Regions from separate parts of the Homo sapiens genome. Here all the other regions are linked to region 3. The links are contacts of gene promoters, found by promoter capture Hi-C in blood cells and fetal thymus (Javierre and others, 2016). All regions are on one chromosome and are shown on one strand. Each heading gives the region's core, a stretch centred on a gene start or on the middle of the fragment in contact. The rest is flanking DNA. Distances are from core to core; before and after follow the strand shown.

The links. Contacts are between HindIII fragments. The CHiCAGO score rates a contact against its expected background, and 5 or more counts as called.
Region 1: a fragment that was not itself captured here is called in contact with the fragment with the promoter of ROPN1 in region 3 in 2 of 17 cell types (endothelial precursors and M1 macrophages); the score reaches 7.0 in endothelial precursors.
Region 2: a fragment that was not itself captured here is called in contact with the fragment with the promoter of ROPN1 in region 3 in 1 of 17 cell types (endothelial precursors); the score reaches 5.0 in endothelial precursors.

The regions. Positions count from the first base shown.
Region 1 is chr3:124,282,806-124,286,741 of GRCh38, forward strand. All of the region lies in intron 5 of KALRN (kalirin RhoGEF kinase), which reads left to right. Among named protein-coding and RNA genes, the nearest start is that of MIR6083, 90 kb to the right of the region's middle. The HindIII fragment of the contact is 4,470 bases long and covers 30-3,936 here.
Region 2 is chr3:124,266,307-124,269,786 of GRCh38, forward strand. It overlaps KALRN (kalirin RhoGEF kinase), which reads left to right. Exons shown (of 60, transcript NM_001388419.1): 5 at 2,437-2,949. Among named protein-coding and RNA genes, the nearest start is that of MIR6083, 110 kb to the right of the region's middle. RefSeq lists enhancers at 133-656, 2,968-3,480. The HindIII fragment of the contact is 2,189 bases long and covers 857-3,045 here.
Region 3 is chr3:123,990,198-123,994,032 of GRCh38, forward strand. ROPN1 (rhophilin associated tail protein 1) reads right to left here and starts at 1,927. Exons shown (of 6, transcript NM_001317774.2): 1 at 1,725-1,927. RefSeq lists an enhancer at 1,699-2,215. The HindIII fragment of the contact is 3,137 bases long and covers 184-3,320 here.

The DNA of each region.
Region 1 (3,936 bases), core at 1,015-3,514, 290 kb after region 3:
GTAGGGTCTGGAAGCTGGAAACACTGCCAAGCTTCTCCTTGTGGATGTGCCCAGCCTGGCTCCCTGCATGGCCCCTTACCTGTCTGAGCCCCATTGCAGAGGCTGCTGCTGGAAGAGGGGAGAAGGGGCAAAATGGGGTGCCTAGTCCTCCTCCTAAGCTCAAGGTCAGGCCCACCTAGCACATACCAGCATAGCTAGGTGGTGGTCTTCTCCCCAAGAGAAGGGCTCCCACAGGGAAGCCTGCCTCCTCCCAGAGAGGGGCTCCCAAAGAAAGAGCTGCCTCATCCTTAGCCTCATGTGGAGCTTTGTTCCCAGATGTGCAAGTGATTGGCACAGCCGATTTTAGGATGTGTGGGAGGACTAGATGAGAACATCCAACAGACACTCCATTTTTGCAGTAACAATAATAGTTACCATTTATTGAGTGTATCCCTTATGCCAGGAACAACCATTAGCTCATCTAAATTAACTTGCCAAGGGCCAGATCTCAGTTTATGTCTAAATTTAGCTCCGGGATAAAGTTGGGCATTATTTTCTCAGCCTGGATTAAATAGGATTTGACCTCTTCAAGTCTACATTTTGGGAAGTGAGTGAAGTACATTCCCTCACTGTGTTCCTGAAAATATTTTATCAGCATTTGTGGTTCAAATGGAAGGAATTTGGCCACTCAGAGTCAATATCCCGGGGCTGTCTGGGCTGACTCCTGGCTTGGTTAGTTCTGTTTCTCATCTGCTTGACTTGCTGGCTCCTGGATGACCATTCCTTCCCCACAGGAGGGTAATGAGTGTGTTGCCAGTGCTGCAGGGAATAAAGTGCATCCAGGCTCATAGGCTGGAAATAAAATGCAAAAACACCTTATTTAAAGTCTGAAAATATTTATATTAATGACTTGGTGAGATTTTTTATTACATCACTTAACTTGAGGAGGGCAAGTGCGAGGAGAGTGGCCTTTTAAGGCTTAGCATTGAGTGTGTGCTTCTCCAGACAGCTGCTGAACTGCAGCTCATCTGTCAAGAACAGTGTGTGATTTTAGCATGAAGTTTCGCAGTCTTAGTTTCTCTAATCAGACAGCAACTACTTGTTGTGACTGCCAGTTTATCTTGTCTGAACCCAGAGGAAGTGGAAAGAGACTAGCATACATTCTGGATCTGCTATGTATCATATGCTATACTCAGAACTTTTCATATATTATCATATTATGATCTTTATCTTCTTTGACCCAGACATTTGAATAGTTTGTGTGAAAAAGATGGGAGAGGGAACAAAATGGAGGAGAAAGCGGAGGCAGAGACCATCAGTTGGTGAGAAGTCTGCAATGTGCTAGTTGGTTTTTGTTCTATGAGATCAAGGCTGGCTTGGTCTCCCCTTTGCAATGAGATAAATGCCTGTATATCTGGGAGGGTCTCAGTCTAGACACTCACTTCGTAGTTAAAAGCAAATCTGAGCTATCACTCCCCTCCAGTGGTTCCCCAATGCATCTTTTGCCCTTTGTGATCTGGTATCTCCCTATCTCCTACTATGGCTTCTTACAATCCCTCATTTTATGCTGCTGCTTTAAACCTCCAGGCCTTTGCTTAAGCTATTTCCTCTGATTAAAATGCCCTTGCAAACTACACCTTCTTTGCCTGATGAAATCCTGTTGTCTTTCAAGTGCTGTCCAGGTGTTGCCACCCAGAAGCCATCCATGCTTTTCCCTAACCCTATCTCTGCCAAGTTGGACCAAGTGCTCCTCTACTGTCAGCCCACAGTATACGTCTCTTATAGTATTTTTCACATTTTATTAACATTAACAGAATATGGAATGTGTTTGTCCCCCTCACTAGACCGTGGCCTTGATCTTTTATCACCCGTGTCTAACCCAATGTCTGGAATACGAGTGCTCAATAAGTGAATGAACAATCACACTAAACATCATGAGGGTGTGACTCTTGGTATCAGAATGCTTTGGGCTTCAAGAAACAGAAGACAGTAAAATTTGCTTAAATATCAAGGAAATGTATTATTTCACATTTTAAGTAGTCATTCAGAGACAATGATGTGAGCTTCAAGATTGATGAATCAGTGCGAGCCCATCTTCAGGCACTCAGGATTCTTTCTATCTCACTCCTCTGCTGAGATCTCACTGTTTGGCCGAGAACTTCCTTGCAAGGCTGTTTCCCTTCATGGTTCTAAGACAGCTGCCAGTTGTAACAGAGCAACATGCTTCACTCTTCCCCAAGTGATAGGGGTAGCAGGAGAAGGAGGGAGAAACACAGACATTGACTTCTGTTTCCCAGAAGCTCTAAGCAAATCTCTCCTCAATTTCGTTGGTTCATACTCATTAAGACTTGCCCAATCCTGAACATGTAAATAAAAAGGGGAGTGAAATTAGTATGACTGGTTTGAACAAATGATCTGGGGTGAACTGGATGTTAGGGAATCAATGTTCAATATACTACTCTAGAAGGAGTAGTATATCCTTCTTATCCTTAGAGTCTATCATGTCCCATTTTCTCTCTCCTTTCCTCTGGAACTCTAAGTATGCCTGTGTTAAAACTACACTACCCAACAGGACAGTCAGTAGCCACATCTGGCTAATTAAATTTAGTGGGTATAGTATACACTATTATGGTGTGATAGATACACTGAAAGCTCCAAGACTTCACCACTATGCAATCTATCCGTGTAACAAAATTGCATTTGTATCCTTTAAATTTATACAAATAAAAAAATTAATTAAAAATAAAATTTTTGGTTTGTTTGTTTTTGAGACAGAGTTTCACTCTTGTTGCCCAGGCTGGAGTGCAGTGGCATGATCCCAGCTCACTGCAACCTCTGCCTCCCGGGTTCAAGTGATTCTCCTGCCTCAACCTCCCAAGTAGCTGGGATTACAGGTGCACGCCACCATGCCTGGCTAATTTTTGTATTTTTAGTAGAGATGGGGTTTTGCCATGTCGGCCAGGCTGGTCTTGAACTCCTGACCTCAGATGATCCACCTGCCTGGGCCTCCCAAAGTGCTGGGATTACAGGCGTGAGCCACTGCACCCTGCTTAAAAATAAAATTTTAAACTCAGTTTCTCAGTTTCACTTGCCACATTTCAAATATTCAAAAGGCACCTAGTGGCAAACCAACTGGACAGGACAGACATAGAACATGTCAGTCATCACAGAAGGTTGTATTGGACGGCACTGTACTAGATCTTTTAGTTATGTCCCACATCTCTTCTGCTGTGTCCTGTGCTTCTATTTGCTTTTCTCTCTGTGCTTCAGTGTGCTGTTTTCTTTCTTTCTTTCCTTCCTTTCTTTCTTTCTTTCTTTCTTTCTTTCTTTCTTTCTTTCTTTCTTTCTTTCTTTCCTTTCTTTCTTTCCTTTCTTTCGTCTTTCTTTCTTTCTCTTTCTTCCTTCCTTCCTTTCTCTTTTCTCTTTTTCTCTTTCTTTCTTTCTTTTCTTCTCTTCCTCTCTTTCTCTCTTGCTCTCTCTCTCTTTCTCCCTTCCTCTTCCCCTTCCCCTTCCTCTTCCCCTTTCCCTTTTTGTGCTGCAAACTCCGCCTTCTGGTTTCAAGCAATTCTCCCACCTCAGCCTCCCGAGTAGCTAGTAGCTGGAATTACAGGCGCCTGCCACCACGCCTGGCTATATTTTTGTCTTTTTAGTAGAGACAGGGTTTTGCTGTGTTGGCCAGGCTGGTCTGAAACTCCTGACCTTGTGATCTGTCTGCCTTGGTCTCCCAAAGTGCTGGGATTACAGGCATGAACCACTGCACCCTGCCCAGTGTGCTGTTTTCTATTGATTTGTTTTCAAGTTCATTCATCCTGCTTGCTGCTGCATCTATTCTGCCATTACACTCATCCAGTGAATTCTTAAGTTCAGTATTATACTCTGCAATTCTAGAATGTTCATACAATTCTTTTTATAGATTATGATTCTCCATTGGAACATTCCATTTTTTAATCCATTTTG
Region 2 (3,480 bases), core at 701-3,200, 280 kb after region 3:
GATTGAAGATGTTAGTGATGGTTTATTCTACGTGACTGGATAGTGGATGGTTTTTATTTACTTCATATGTTTTTATTTTTTTCAAGGATGATGTATTACTTTCATAATCAAGGAAAACATGTTTTTAAACTAAATTTTCTGGAGGGTATATGTTTCCCCTGAGAATTTTCAATGACAATACATCAGATTAAATCAATGATTTAAGCGTCTGTATTCCAGCCAAATATAAACTGTTCCCTTCCTCAGAATTCTAGTCCTCATCTGCAAGGGGATGAACTTTTAAATGTGTGTGTGTTGAAAACACAGAGCTGCTTTTAATCTTTCAGCAGCTTCCCATTCCAGACTTTTGTGCCCTGGGGGCCAGGAGCGCCTGTGTGTGGTGTCAAATAGGCTGTGATTTGAGCACAATGACCTGACACTTGATGCAGGCGATTCTCACTCTGTGTAAACAATACAAGAAATTTGGCTTGGTATAAAAACAGTGACCTATTATAGTCTCCTGGCACCCCTCCAGAACACTAGAAGTCCTGCAGGGAAATGCTTTCTATATTTTGGCTTGTTTATACAGAGGTGGTGACAACAAGCCTATAGATGTATAAGCTGAAGAGACTGAAAAGCATCTTTTCAGTAAGTCTTGATACTTCTGCTTCAGCATTGCTGGCCTGCATGTCCCATCTCTCTGTACCTCTTTCACTCTAAGTTGAACAAGCTTGTCTCTGCCTCCTAAATAAGAGGATAGGAGAGATAGCTGGGGGCCTCCCAATCAAAGGAATATTTATAAGGCAGTATCTTAAAAACAGTGAATTTAATACTTAGTGCAGACTGGGGTGACAAGTGATACAGAGATGAGAGTATAAGCTTGTTCAACAACAGATACTTATACAACAGATATATAATAATTGGTAAGTATAATGATGGAGGACTTCCCGGAAGTGGTAAACTTTGAGCCAAATTTGAAGGAGAAAGTACTTTGGAATAGGGTTTCTCAAGTTTAATGCACACAAATCTCCTGGGGATTTTGAAAATGCAGATTCTGCCTCAATAGGTCTGGGGTAAGGCCTAAGATTCTGCATTTCTAACAAGCTCCCATGTGATGCCAATACTGCTGGTCTGAGAGCTATGCTTTGAGTAGCAAGGATGGAGATTAGCAGGAGTTTGCAACTCTACTTGCACATTAGAATCATCTGAGGGACTCTTAAACCTACTGATGTCCAAGCTCCCATTTAGCCAATTAAATCAGAATTTCTAGGGATGAGGTTTGAGCATTGGTATTTTTGCACACTCCCCAAAGGATTCTAATGAGCAGTCAAGTTTGACAACCATTGTTCCAGACCAGTCCTCCTGCCTATGGCACCTCCTTCCTTCCTCTTAGGAGAGGGGTGGAAAGAGAAGGAACAAAGAGGGGATGCTCAGAGAGTGGCAAGACACAGAGAGATAAATTGCTTTTCAGGTTTTGAGTAATGATGCAGCCTTCAGATCATCAGAGTGAGCACTAACAGGGATTGAGCATGTACTCCATGCTATGCACCCTATGTGCTTTACACACATTGATACATTTAATCTCTGCAAGCCCCATGAGGAAGGAATAATTATCTCCATTACACAGAGGAGGAGACTGAGGCTCTGAGACCTTAATAGCTTGCCCTGGGTCACACAGTTAATAAGCATAGGGCTGGGACCCAAACACAGATATTAATTTGCTAGCCTCTCATTCTTCATGAGAAAGAAGAGAAGCCTAAAGCCCTATAGGAAGGAAAAGATGTTTACTAATAAACTAAGGTGGTTGCCTGCATCATCATTTGCTGGAGACACTTTCCTTCCTGGAGACAAACATTCTCCAGTCCGCTCTCCAGGAGCTTGTAGGGGCCTCACAGAGAAAACCAAGGGCGCAGACTCCCCTGTTGCCCATCCCTAGTTCTGTTCACCATACCACAGAAGAGCTAAAAGGGAGAGCCTTGGAAAAGATAAGACTGTGAAATCTTTGCAGCCCAAGCACTGGCCCATGTTGCTTAATCCAACTATGATGATACCCTGGGTCCACGGGCCTTGGTTTTAAAGCTGTGGAAAACTGTCCCCCAGAAACTAGGTCAGTTTTTCTTCCAGCTTCTGCTTCTAGCCTCTGAAGCCCTTTTGAAGTGAACTGGGGTCAGGAGGAGGGAAAATGAGGAGAGGAGGGACACAAAAGCAGTTCTTCTGGGGTGGTAAATGGCTGGCAGTTGTAGAGGCTTGCTAAAGCAGTCAGCAGTCTGTAGAAACTGCTGATCCTGACTGATCTGTGACTCCTGACCAGTGAGTCCCATGGCCTCCACTCACCATTTCCGAGGCAGGCTGTGGTCATTATTATGTGGATTTATCTTGTCCTTTCCCTCATCCTATTTCTGCCCTGTTCTTCCCCTGACATCACTGAGTATCCTTGTCTGTGTCTGCCCCTTCCAGACGAGCATGGTATCTGTGGAGGGCCTCACAAAGCTGGTGGACCCCTCCCAGCTGACGGAGGAGTTTGATGGCTCCCTGGACTACAACCATGAGGAGTGGATCGAACTGCGGCTCTCCCTGGAGGAGTTCTTCAACAGCGCCGTGCACCTGCTCTCGCGCCTCGAGGACCTCCAGGAGATGCTAGCCCGGAAGGAGTTTCCTGTGGATGTGGAGGGCTCTCGGCGGCTCATTGACGAACACACACAGCTCAAGAAAAAGGTGCTGAAGGCCCCTGTGGAGGAGCTGGACCGGGAGGGGCAGCGGCTGCTGCAGTGCATCCGCTGCAGCGACGGCTTCTCAGGACGCAACTGCATCCCGGGCAGTGCTGACTTCCAGAGCCTGGTGCCCAAGATCACCAGTCTCCTGGACAAGCTGCACTCCACCCGGCAGCACCTGCACCAGATGTGGCATGTGCGCAAGCTCAAGCTGGACCAGTGCTTTCAGCTGCGGCTCTTCGAGCAGGATGCTGAGAAGGTAGGAAGGGAACAGGCCAAACCTGAGCCGGGATGGGGGTGAGGGAGCAGAGGTTGCTCATCCAACTTTCTGATTAATGATAGTACTTTCCTGGAAAGCTTTAAAACAGTGTGCCTACTAGTTTTAGCTAATGTAATTTTTTTAAGCTCACCCTTATATAGTGTGTATTATGTGCCCAGTATTGTTCTAAGCACTGTGTGTAAATTTACTCATTTTAATCCTTTCAAGAGTCCTGAGAGGTAGATGTACTATTATAATCACATTTTACAGATGAAGAAACTGAAAGGTTAAAGAATTCACCAAGCTGGGAAGTGCAGTCTGGCTCCAGGGTCCCTGCTTTTACCTACTGTTAGAAGCTGCCCCGAGTGCCTGCAATGAGTGGCTCAAGCCAGCTAAGGAACAAAAACAGTACTGTTAACAGCCACTATAATATTAATTAGTGATTATGGCCCTGCAATGTATTTTACCATTGACAAACCACTTTCACACAGTCTTATTTAATCTGCATAATCCTTTGATCCTTATGGGTTG
Region 3 (3,835 bases), core at 677-3,176:
AGTAGTTGCAATAGGGAGTGATATAAGAGACAAGTATTTAGGAGATAGGATCTACAGGATTTGGTAACTACTGAAGGAGGAGGAGGAGGAAGAAAAGAGGAGGTGGAGGAGGAGGAAGAAGAGAAGGTGGAGAAGGAGGAAGAGGTGAAGGACAGAAAAGTCTAGAGTGACTATCAGTTTTCAAGCTTGGATGACTGGGTGCACAGTGGTGGTACCCTTGTAGAAATAGAAAACACTAAAGGAGGGTCAGGTCAAATTATCCCCCCATGTTCCCATTTACTTTCAGGAGTTCCATGCACTTTTGAATCACAGAGTTGAAATCATAGACTCTCTGAGTTGAAGAGGCACCAAAGCCCAGCTTTCCTGCCTTTGGGCAATAAGGGTCATTTGTTCACATCAAAGAAGTGGGAGAAAGGTCCATTCTATCTTAACATTCCTCAATTCTAACATTTTGTAAAGTTATTTTCCATTTTTAAATCTCTTGATAGTGTAGGTCTTCTTCAATTATACATTCCAGAGCTTATCCATAACCCCAACTCTTTCAATTCAATGCATTTCCTCCTAAGTGAAACCTACATGCCTCTCAATGTAAAATGGAGGCCAACATATACCTGCCAAGTGCTGAAGAATGTAGGTCTTAAAATAGACTATAGCCTTGTTTCAGGGATCTCTCACTTGGTTTTATTGGTATGGGCTAAACAGGGCTTCCGTTTCATAAATGAAAGTCTCCAGTAACATGAATGAAAGGCTCCAGGGCAGAATCTCAGAGGGTTTCTATGAGTATCACTTGGAACCAAGCACAGGCAACTGCACATCCCTGTTTGGGTTTGGAATTGGAGATGGTGGGTTTGGGATGTGGTTACTCTTGTTTGGAATACATTCTCCTCCTCTTAACAGGTTGATTCTTCCTTTGGAGGTCTGCTTAACCTTCCCTGATTACCCTGTCAGTTCCATTGTACATACCCTTCCAGAGCATCACTTACCTATCCTTAGTGTGATTCTTTGAGTAACATGTGTCTCCCCCAGCAAACTCCACGGCAGGACTGGTCAGTTTTTGCTCACCACACCATCCCAGTGCCTAGCCCAGTGCCTGGAACTTAGTGTTCAATAGGTACTAGTAAAAATGAATGCGTGATAGCAGTCTATGAAGTGCTAGCTATAAAATGAACACGTGATAGGAGTCTATGAAGTGCTAGGTATAAAATAATGCGTGATAGGAGTCTATGAAGTGCTAGGTATAAAATAATATGTGATAGGAGTCTATGAAGTGCCAGGTATAAAATAATGCCTGACAGGAGTCTATGAAGTGCTAGGTATAAAATAATGTGTGATAGGAGTCTATGAAGTGCTAGGTATGCCCATGACATCCACATGACAATTCACCCAGAGGTATTTTTATATCCCTGTCGCTGATGAAAAAGCAGAGGTGTGGCTCCTCGGTGGAGGGCTCTGATTCCAAACTCTTGAGCCTCCCAACCACTGTCCTCCGGGTAAGAAACCGTATAATAGTATTCTGGGTACAAAATACGCACACAAATTGGCCAGAAAGCCATAATCCCCCACAGTCACATTCTCTTGAAGATCCCCTTGCCTTCCCCTTGCCCTGTGAACAAGGAGAGGCTCAGAATCCAGGGGGCGTCCGGCAGGGCTCCTCCCTCAGACCAGCGCAGCCCTCGGGGCGCTCAGAGCCCTGCCCTCCCTCCACTTCCCCTCGGGGTGGCTACCTCAGGCTCGCTCCCAAACCGGCTGTCTGGCTTCAGGCGACACCTGGCGCCTGGCCTCAGGCGAGAGGTGTGGGGAGAGACCGAGTGCCTCCCACCCTTCTTAAGAAGGAGAGCAGTAGAACCTCGGCGGGGAGGGCAGCAGCGGCCGGGGGTGACAGCAGCGGCGGGGCACGACCGCCGTTAGCGTTAGACGTTAGCGCTCCGCCTTCGCCTGGCAAACCCTGCGCGGGCTCCGCTGCCAGGTCACCAGGGGTAGCGCCGGGCGCGACGTCACAGAGCCGCCCCGCCTCTCCTGCAGCGGCGGGTTCCCAGGGTCCCGCTAGGGCGCTGCTAGGGGACGCTGAAAGCTGTTTTGGGCTTTGCTGGTGGTGGAAGGACCAGACGGCCTGGAGGGTTAAGGACTGGGCTGGGGACGTTAGGAAACCCGGGCTGGGGGCGTTGGGGGTGGGGCGGAATGTGTAGCCATTGACGGTGCGCTTTTGTAGGTGAGAGGGCAGAAGTGGAGCTTGATCTTTCGGCTTGTGGAAAGTGGACAGGTGAGAATTCCTCAGGAATCATAGTAACAACACTTCTTACAATGAGTTTTTGGTGCCAGGAATTGTTCTAAGTGCATTACACACATGAACTCATTTCATCCTTACTGTCACCCCATGAGGCAAGTACTATTGTTATCCCCATTTTTACAGATGAGGGAACTGAGCACAGAGAGGTTAAACTTGTCCAAGATGACAGTCAGCAAGTGACAGAGTCAGGATCTGAATCTGGGTTGCGTGGTCCCAGATTCCTCACTCTTGACCTTATAATGCTAAGAAAGGGGCATGGAGTGGATAGGAACAGAGCCTGAGATGCCTGGGGACAACAGGGAAAGATAGAAAATATTTATAGGGTAGAATGTGGTCACTGTGCCAGGGCACTTTTACAAACATGATGACATCAAAGTTTCACAGTAAACTCTGAAGGTAGGTATTACCTTCGCTTTGGAAATAAAAAACAGGCTCAAGGCTTCGAGTAATTTTGCCTGTGATCGAACAGCTGGCAGTAGGGCTCAGGGCCCAACTTTACTCCAGGTCTTCCGGTTTCAAGACTGTGTGTGTGTGTGTGTGTGTGTGTGTGTGTGTGTGTGTGTGTGTGTGTGTGTTTTGAGACAGGGTCTTGCTCTGTTGCCCAGGCTGGAGTGCAATGGGGTAATCATGACTCACTGCAGCCTCAATCTCCTAGGTCTAAGCAATCCTCCCACCTCAGCCTCCCAAGTAGCTGAGACTGCAGGTGCTTGCCACGATGACAGGCTAATTTTTATATTTTTATAAACGGGGTTTTGCCATGTTGCCCAGGCTGGTCTTGAATCCCTGGGCTCAAGTGATCCACCTGCCTTGGTCTCCCAAAGTATTGGGATTACAGGTTTGAGCTACCGCACCTGGTCTCAAGACTGTTCGTTTTAAGCACCCAAGGAGGCAAGAAAAGCCCCATCTTTCTCTGCTACATCCCGTGTCACTTCACACCTATTTTAAAGGGGCCCATTGCATCATCTAATCCTTCATTCCATTTATACAACAGTGTGTATTAGTCTAAATAGATTAGTTCACCCAGGCCCTTCAAAGCTTTCTCTGTTTGTGAGATGAAAGCCTTTGTCTCTCCCTAAAGCAATTTTAAGCATCAGTGAACAAGTGGGGGAACTAGATTTTTGGGTTACGCATGCAGAAAGCTTTTCACAGCCTGTTGTCATCCATTTGTAAAGAGGCCACTCTGCTGGCATTTGTCAAAATCCTGTAGGTCCTTGCACACCTGGAGAATCCTGGATGGTCTGGGGATGGCCACTGCCCACAGGGCAAGATCTGGGGATGAAAGAAACCTAGTCACTAGCTATCACCTGCCTTTCTGAGGCCTCTGTGGAGGGGCTGCCAGGTGTTGGTATAGGCACTTGACAAACAGGGTGTGCCTTAGGTTGGGAGGGGGAGGCTGGAGGCTTGAGGGCTGCAGGTGCATCTTCCAGGATAACAAGAATGCTCTGGCCACTGGGGTCTGTTCTGTTGTATGCACATGGGATAAAGGTGTGCCAATCTCTTCCTGCTTTCATGCAGAGTAAATAATGCTGACAGGAGTGAATAATAATG